Regions from separate parts of the Homo sapiens genome. Here all the other regions are linked to region 1. Evidence: promoter capture Hi-C in 16 types of primary human blood cells and fetal thymus (Javierre and others, 2016). All regions are on one chromosome and are shown on one strand. The core of a region is centred on a gene start or on the middle of the fragment in contact, and the rest is flanking DNA. Distances in the headings are between cores, read along the strand shown. Region 1 overlaps ZNF398 (zinc finger protein 398). Region 2 holds the start of C7orf33 (chromosome 7 open reading frame 33). Region 3 holds the start of ZNF467 (zinc finger protein 467).

Region 1 (2,700 bases), core at 141-2,640:
CATTTTCTTTCTTTCTTTTCTTTTTTTTTTTTAGAGACAGAGTCTCGCTGTACACCCAGGCTGGAGTGCAGTGGCGCGATCTCGTCTCACTGCAACCTCTGCCTCCCGAGTTCAAGCAATTCTCCTGCCTCAGCCTCCCAAGTAGCCAGGATTACGGGCACCCGCCACCACACACCGCTAATTCTTGTATTTTTAGTAGAAATGGGGTTTCACCACGTTGGTCAGGCTGGTCTCGAGTTCCTGACCTCGTGATCCACCTGCCTCAGCCTCCCAAAGTGCTGGGATTACAGGTGTGAGCCACCGTGCCCGGCCTCCCACAATTTCTTTTCACACTGATGCTTTTCACATTGCTTGCAGACATCATGATCCACTTTCATTTTCTATCTGCTAACTTGTTTTCAAATTCTAGCTTTTCATCCTGTAATGCCAGAAGTCTTTTACAACCTTCTTCCTTGGCATCTGGTGCCTTACATATTAATATATGATCTTTTTTTACTAAGGGCACTTTGTGGTGTTCAATAGCTGGTCTCAGAATTTCATTGTCTGACAGTAAACCATCCAGTTCACTTTGAATCTTTTTCCTTTCCCTTTCTAGCTCACTCTTGCTGCCTCTAGTTTCATGGCTGTTATTTCTAGTATGCTTGAAAGTTTCGTTCTTTGACTTTAGTGCTCAGTGTATTTCTTTCTTTCTCTTTTTTTATTTTTATTTTTATTTTTTTGAGACGGAGTCTTGCTCTGTCACCCAGGCTGGAGTGCAGTGGTGCGATCTTGGCTCACTGAAAGCTCTGCCTCCCGGGTTCACGCCCTTCTCCTGCCTCAGCCTCCCAAGTAGCTGGGACTACAGGCGCCCACCACCACGCCCGGCTAATTTTTTGTATTTTTAGTAGAGATGGGGTTTCACCGTGTTAGCCAGGATGGTCTCGATCTCCTGACCTTGTGATCTGCCCGCCTCGGCCTCCCAAAGTGCTGGGATTACAGGCTCAAGCCACTGCGCCCGGCCCTCTTTCTTTTTTTAAGATGGAGTCTTGCTCCATCACCCAGGCTGGAGTGCAGTGACGCTATCTCGGCTCACTGCAACCTCTGTCTCCTGGGTTCAAGCAATCCTCCTGCCTCAGCCTCCCAAGTAGCTGGGATTACAGGTGCACACCATCACGCCTGGCTCATTTTTGTATTTTTAGTAGACACGGGGTTTCACCATATTGGTCAGGTGGGGCTCGACTCCTGACCTCAAATGATTCACCTACCTCAGCCTCCCAAAGTGCTGGGATTACAGGCGTGAGCCACCGCCACCACTCCCAGCCTGGTCAGGGTATTTCTTTCTTGTTCAGTTTTATGTAATCTTTAATGATTAAAAAGGTACTTTGGCCAGGCGCAGTGGCTCCTAGAACTTTGGAAGGCCAAGGCGGGTGGATCACCCAAGGTCAGCAGTTTGAGGCCAGCCTGACCAACATGGCGAAACCCTGTCTCTACTAAAAACACAAAAATTAGCTGGGCTTGGCCGGGCGCGGTGGCTCACCTGAGGTCGGGAGTTCAAGACCAGCCTGACCAATATGGAGAAACCCCGTCTCTACTAAAAATACAAAATTAGCCAGGGGCGTGGTGGCACAGGCCTGTAGTCCCAACTACCTGGGAGGCTGAGGCAGGAGAATCGCTTGAACTCGGGAGGCGGAGGTTGCGGTGAGCCGAGATCACACCATTGTACTTCAGCCTGCACGACAAGGGCAAAACTCCATCTCAAAAAAAAAAAAAAAAAATTAGCTGGGCATGATGGCGCATGCCTGTAATCCCAGCTACTCAAGAGGCTGAGGCAGGAGAATCGCTTGAACCTGGGAGGCGGAGGTTCCAGTGAGCTGAGATCACGCCACTGCACTCCAGCCTGGGCGACAGGAGTGAAACTCTGTCTGAAAAAAACAAACAAACAAACAAACAAAACAGGTATTTTGTTCATTGTTTGATTGTGGCTCTTTTTCCGAGCATTTAACCTACAGTTTACGTGACATTTTTGGCCTACTGGGACCTGACTGTAACTGCATCTCAGCCAACTGTCACACCTGTATTCTTAGGACGTTTTCTAACTGAGCACCAGAATTCTCTTTTTCAGCCGTTAAATCTGCTACTTCAGCCTCTGAATGAATATATATATATTTTTTGAGACAGACTCTCGCTCTGTTGCCCAGGCTGGAGTGCAATGGCACGATCTCAGCTCACTGCAACCTCCGCCGCCCCCCTCCCCCCACCCAGGGGTTTGCCATGTTGGCCAGGCTAGTCTCAAACTCCTGACCTCAGGCGATCTGCCCACCTCGGCCTCCCAAAGTGCTGGGAGTACAGGCGTGAACCACTGTGCCCAGCCAGCCTATGAATTATTTTAATTTCTGAAACAAATGGACTTTTTCTCAAACAAGTTCCTCTACTCATTTGTTGCCTCTTGTGGGATCAACACTAAGCAGCTGGTTATATAGTTCTACATCTTTCCCCAGTCTTGCAATCTATAATTCAGGCCAGGTGCACTGGCTCATGCCTGTAATCTCAGCACTTTGGGAGGCCAAGGCAGGAGCATCACTTGAGGTTAGGAGTTCGAAACCAGCCTGGACAACATAGTGAGATCCTGTCTGTATAAAGAAATTTAAAAATTAGCCAGCTGTGGGGCCAGGCACAGTGTCTCACACCTGTAATCCCAGCACTTTGAGAGGCCGAGGCGGG
Region 2 (2,700 bases), core at 119-2,618, 570 kb after region 1:
GCATGTGTCAGTTTGGGGCACTGTGCCACAATGAGGGTGTGGGCAAATGGGAAGAAGCCAGGAACTGCAACATGGGAGAAAACAAATTAGGGCTGGAGAACTAGGTGGGGACACCTGTGGTTCCCATCAAACTGAACACCCAAAGCTGGAGATAAATACAAAGTGGGAGCTCATACTTTAACCAAAAATGCCTGCCTAGTGGGAGGCAGGGGCTTGGGGATCAGGAGGTGTCAAAGATCAAAGACAGGCAAAGAGTTAAGGATCCAGGTCTTGCTGGGCATGGGTGGCACTTCGGGATGTTGAAGTGGGAGGATCGTTTGAGGACAGGAGTTCAAGACCAGCCTGGGCAACATGGCAAGACCCCATTTCTACAAAAAATAAAAAAATTAGCTAAGCCTGATGGCACATGGCTGTAGTCCTAGCCACCCGGGAGGCTCCTCTGGGAGGATCACTTGAAGCCAGGAGGTTGATGCTGCAGTGAGCTATGATTGTGACACTGCACTCCAGCCTGGGTGACAGAGCAAGATACTATCTCTAAAACAACAACAACAACTCCTGGTCTTTAAAGCGAGAGAAGAGACAAGAATCTAGGCAAGGAGAAGGGAACAGGTGCAAAGCTTGTGCCAAAGGGTGACCAAGATAGAGGCTTCCTGTGGACCCATCTCCAGGGCAAAACATAGTCTGAGAACAAGCGCATTCCTTCTACCACACTGTGTGAAAATATACAATTTTTACGCTGGAATTTTTCAAATCAACATGACTCAGGCTAAACACAAGAATACTCAGTGGAGTGTTTTGTGAGGATTCTTTTCCCTAAGAAGATTCCAGGCCTTCTTTGGGGCAGTGAATTAATCTCTGTCTCTCTCTTTACTTCAATGTCGTTAAGCCCAGTTCCATAACACATAGTAGAGAGTCAAAAACATTCATGGATTGAGTGAATGAATTCTCAAGAGATACTGACTGACTCAAAGAGCAGTTGATTCATCTTAGAATCATTAACTTACCTTATGTCTTCCCGTGGCATATGACAAGTTAAATTGACCTGGACCGCCCCTAACGTGGACCCAAACAGCGACTGCCCTCCCACTCAGGCGAAGGTCAATCCGGCGCCTTGCCCCACTGGGCAGGAGGGCTTCACATTCACATTGGGGGCCTGGAAGTCTCCAGGGACACTCTTCAAGGCTGAGGCTTTGAACTTCCACTTGCATTTTGGCAAAGGTAATTACCTTTCCTGGATGCTGTCAAGGAGAGCGGCGCTTCACCACCAATATCTAAGATCAAGTCGCACGGATCCCCAGGGTCAGTAGGAGGATTCAGACACAGGCTGGGCGCCTCGCTCCTGACCACTGGATTGGCATCACCATAAGTAAGGTCACAGCTGAGTAGAAAATGCCTGAGGCAAAGTGGGGGTGAAAGAGGGGCCACCGAGCAGTGTGATAGGCAGCCCCTTCCGCCAGCTCATTATCCCCACCTGCTCCTGTCGTCTCCTATTAGAATCCTAATGCGAGTTTACGGAAAGTCAGCTGGAGCTTGTCCTCCATGTAATTCAGATCACGTTGCCTGCAGCTCTTAGGTACTCAAATAAACAGAAGGACTAATATTACTACTGAAAAAGTAATTAAGGGCATTCATTGTAAAGTAATAATGATTACCTCACCCTCACCATATGGCCAGAACTGATTAACACCTAGAAGAAATGATCTAAAACCTCTACAATCAGAATTAATGTCTCAGGTCATAATGAGAAACATTTTGTAGCGGGGTTTGGCAGGGAAGGATGAAAAAGTGGTTGGGAGTTTACTAAATCAAGAGGCACAAACAAAATATTGAGGATAACATCCTTTTTCAGGATTTTTCATCTCATTCAGATTAGACAAGTTGCATTTTTAGTGTAGAACCCATATCACAAATGCAAAAAATATTACAAGATTTACACATTGGAATTGTCACTTAATTGGATGAGTTTTTCCTCCATTGTTTCTTTTATAATGATGAGGAATTGATGGAAGAATCTCCATCGAGGCTGGCAGTTTCTTAAATCACCAGGGAAGGGCTTAGCCCACTGATTGAAAATCTTCTTATCGTAAATTACTGGTTAAAATGCTATTTGTTGTCAGGAGTATCATGGAGTGTGATTTAATCTCTTAAGATTAGTTAAAGTGGTAGAAATGTTAGCATTTCTGGGTAATGCCAAACAGGTTAGCATTACAAAAGATGCCTAGAAAGATACGGACCCATTTGGAAGACAAGGTTGCTGTAAAAGCCAGTTTGCAGGTGCACCGTGGGGGGTGACAGGATGCCCTGGGCTGTTCTTGATTAGTGCGTGTGCCCTAGGGTCATGTGGTGAAGCATAAGGAAGCAGAATTTGGGATATTTTTCCCACCAGAATCCCTAAGATTACTCTGTGTACTGCTGGGGAAAAGCTTAATGGGCTCAACACCACCCTTGAGGGAAGGCAATAATGGAATCTCTTTTTTCTGCAAATACTTCCTTGGGTGGTGCATCATGATTCCCTGAGGCAGGATTTCCTGCAGCAGAGCTGGAGGGGCTGGAGGGGCTGGTGGGGCTGGTGGGGCTGGTGGGGCTGGAGGGGCCAGAGGGGCTGGTGGGGCTGGTGAGTCTAGAGGTGCTGGAGTTCCAAGAACTTGGCCTGGAATCTTGAACCTGCAGCCATACATTCGGACTCTAGCTTTGCCTTTT
Region 3 (2,700 bases), core at 53-2,552, 610 kb before region 1:
GTTAACCAGAGCTGGGCCGGGCTCTCCTTCTCCTGGGTTCACCATTGGTCCCAGGGCCAAAAAAGGGCCCAGAGTGAGTCTCTCAGGGGGTCACGGATGACTGGGATCAACTCCTGCTCTGGAGTCCTCAGAAAGAGCCACACGCACACCCAGACACCCCCCTTTCCTGTTTTACACACATGCACACTCTCACTGTAAGTCTCACAACACCGGCACAGGTGCTCGGCCACACCCCAGCACGCACAGTGACACATGCTACTCCAGGTGCTCCCTTCATCCTGGAGGCAGAGGAGCCTTCACAGCTGAGCCCGAGTGATGGGCGCTCTTCCAGGCACTCATCCTTGTGGTGGGCTGTGGTAGCAGGAGCTCAAGGGCCATTCACACCCTCCCCTTCCCAGCCTCACTCAGCTCTGGATTCAAACCGGGGCTGATCAGGCAGCACTGGGATTGGGAAGAGACCCGAGTTGCAGTCACCCTTTCCCGTAAAGGGGCAGAAGGGAGGAAGCTGGAACCCAGGGGTTTGGAGAAAGTTCATGGAGAGGAGACCGGGAACTAACAGTCCAGACTTCAGCATCTCCGGAGCTTTCAGGAGTGGGCGCAGCGGGAACAAGGCCAAGGAGAAACCTCGTAACCTGGGCAGGGAGGGCGAGTGGAGTCCCCTGAGGAGCTGGGGCTGAGGGCTGAGGGCTGAGGGCTGCCCTCCACATCTAACTCCAGGTGGTGTCCGGGCCAGCAGGCCCCCCAGCAATCGTCTCCCGCCCATAGAGCCCTCCCCTCTCTGCAGCCCCCTCCCAGACCCTCCCCCGGACCCCGCCCTCAGAATCTCCGCCCAGCCCCGTCCCAGCCTTGCCCCCTGGAGCTCCCGACCTGGCCCGGCCTTCTCCCAGGGGACCTGGCTTAAAGTCCTCTCCCCAGTTTCTACTTCGAAGGACCCGTTCTCGCAAGCACAGGGGCCCAGCCCTCTCTCCCGCCTGCCCCCACGGCTCCCGCGGCTGGTTTCGAATCGGGTCCTCGGGACTCCAGGCGAGGGGCTGCGGGTCTGGGTGGATCGGGGTGGAATCCGGGTGGAGAATGGGGGCGGGGCCGGAGTTTCCCAGACCGACCCCCCGGGCCGTCCTCCCGCGGGAGCGCGGCGCTGCACACCCGGCTGGCACCGGCGACTTAGAGACGGCAGCGCACGACTCGCTGGCTCCCCCCCGACACGGCCCCTCCTCGTTCCCCCAACTCCTCCCCGCCACCCCCCCACCCGTTCGCGCTCCACCTTTCCCCGGCTCCTCCCTCCGCGGCCGCGAGCACCCTCCCTTGGCACCCTTCCCCGCAGCCCGAGTGCCTGTCCTCCCCAGCCTCCTCGCCCTCCTCCACCCCCTCTCCCATCACCCTCCCCTCCCCTCCCCTCCCCTCCCCCGTCCTGAGCTCCCACTTCCACACCTACTCCAGGCTCGGAGCCTTAGGACCATCACCTGCCCACCTAAGCCCACGGTGCTCCCTCCTGGGACCCCACTCCTGAAACCCCCTGCCCCTGCCTCCCCCAGCCCGGTGCGCCGGGGCTCTCCGCCCGCTCCCTCGGTCCCTCCTCCCTTGCAGGCGCCGTTTCCCGGCTTCGACTCCCCGCGCGTCTATCCCTCTCCTCCCCGCGAAGTTTCGGGGCTGTCAGTCTGTCAGTCTTTCAGGCCGTCAGCACCCGAGCTGCAGGCGGCGAGCGCCATTGTGAGCAGAGCCGGCGGGGCAGGAGGCCCGGGCGCCTGGGTCCCCGCGGCGCGGGCGGAGCGGCCGGCCAGCCAGGTAAGGGCCGGGGAGGCTCCTCTGCAGGCGGCCCCGCCCGCGTCTCCCTCAGCGCCGCGGTTGGGTCACGGCCGGCTCCGCGCAGGTGACAGCCCCGGGGGTAGGGGCGCGGACGGCGGGCGTGGGGGAGGGGCGCGGGTCCGGGGAGGTCGGGGGCTGGGGGGAAGGGAGGGCAAGGCCGGCGCGGGCAGGGTGAGGGCTGTGGGGGTAGAGGAGACCGGGGGGGCTGGAGGGAAGGGCGGGGGCTGGGAGGGGGTCGGGCGGGAGGCAGGTGGGAAGGGGGACGACGGGCCCCGAGGGGAGGAGAGAGGGAGTGTGGGAGGGGGCCGAGGGGGAAGGGGAGGAAGAAGCGGGCGCTGGGGACCGGGCCACTCGGTAGGGGCGGGAGAGGAGGGCGCTGACAGGTGAGCCCCGGAGCTGGGGAGGGGGCCGGGACCTGGAATGAAGTCGGCGATCGGAGCTGCTTGGGAGGGCGGCGGGGCAGGGAGGTGGAGCTGAGGGTCCCGTCGGGAGGAAAACTTGGGAGGGGTGAGAAGTCCGAGGGGAGCAGAAATAGGGAGGGGGCGCCGCGGCGGAGAAGAGAGGCGCGGAGGGGTGTTCGGAGGGGAGACGGAGTGGGGAGGGCAGGGCCCGCGGGAAGGTCCCGAGAGAGCGGGTCAGCCCTAGACCCCCAGGCTTGGGGGCCGGAGGACCCGGGAGCTGGGAAGCAGCCTGGGAGGGGGGAGGGGAAGAGCGGTTCTGGGGACTGGGGACGGGGAGGGAAGCGAAGCTGGAGCCTGCTGGGGAGACAGAGGGGGAAGGGAGGCGGGGGCCTCGGAGGGGAAGGAGAGCTGCAGAAGGGAGGGGGGAGGGGGAGGGCGGTGGGGAGACGTGGGGGAGGGCTGGAAAGGGGGAGGGGAAGGGAACCGAGGTGAGGCG

The links. Contacts are between HindIII fragments. The CHiCAGO score rates a contact against its expected background, and 5 or more counts as called.
Region 2: a contact is called between the fragment with the promoter of C7orf33 here and a fragment that was not itself captured in region 1, in 1 of 17 cell types (fetal thymus). The highest score is 6.4, in fetal thymus.
Region 3: a contact is called between the fragment with the promoter of ZNF467 here and a fragment that was not itself captured in region 1, in 1 of 17 cell types (neutrophils). The highest score is 5.0, in neutrophils.

What each region holds. Positions count from the first base shown.
Region 1 is chr7:149,162,426-149,165,125 of GRCh38, reverse strand. All of the region lies in intron 2 of ZNF398 (zinc finger protein 398), which reads right to left. It also overlaps the pseudogene LOC100420549. Among named protein-coding and RNA genes, the nearest start is that of ZNF398, 16 kb to the right of the region's middle. The HindIII fragment of the contact is 3,642 bases long and covers 1-2,700 here.
Region 2 is chr7:148,589,434-148,592,133 of GRCh38, reverse strand. C7orf33 (chromosome 7 open reading frame 33) reads right to left here and starts at 1,368. Exons shown (of 3, transcript NM_145304.4): 1 at 1,005-1,368. The coding sequence starts at 1,208. The HindIII fragment of the contact is 1,806 bases long and covers 620-2,425 here.
Region 3 is chr7:149,772,190-149,774,889 of GRCh38, reverse strand. ZNF467 (zinc finger protein 467) reads left to right here and starts at 1,302. Exons shown (of 5, transcript NM_207336.3): 1 at 1,302-1,782. RefSeq lists a silencer at 1,680-1,859. The HindIII fragment of the contact is 21,836 bases long and covers 1-2,700 here.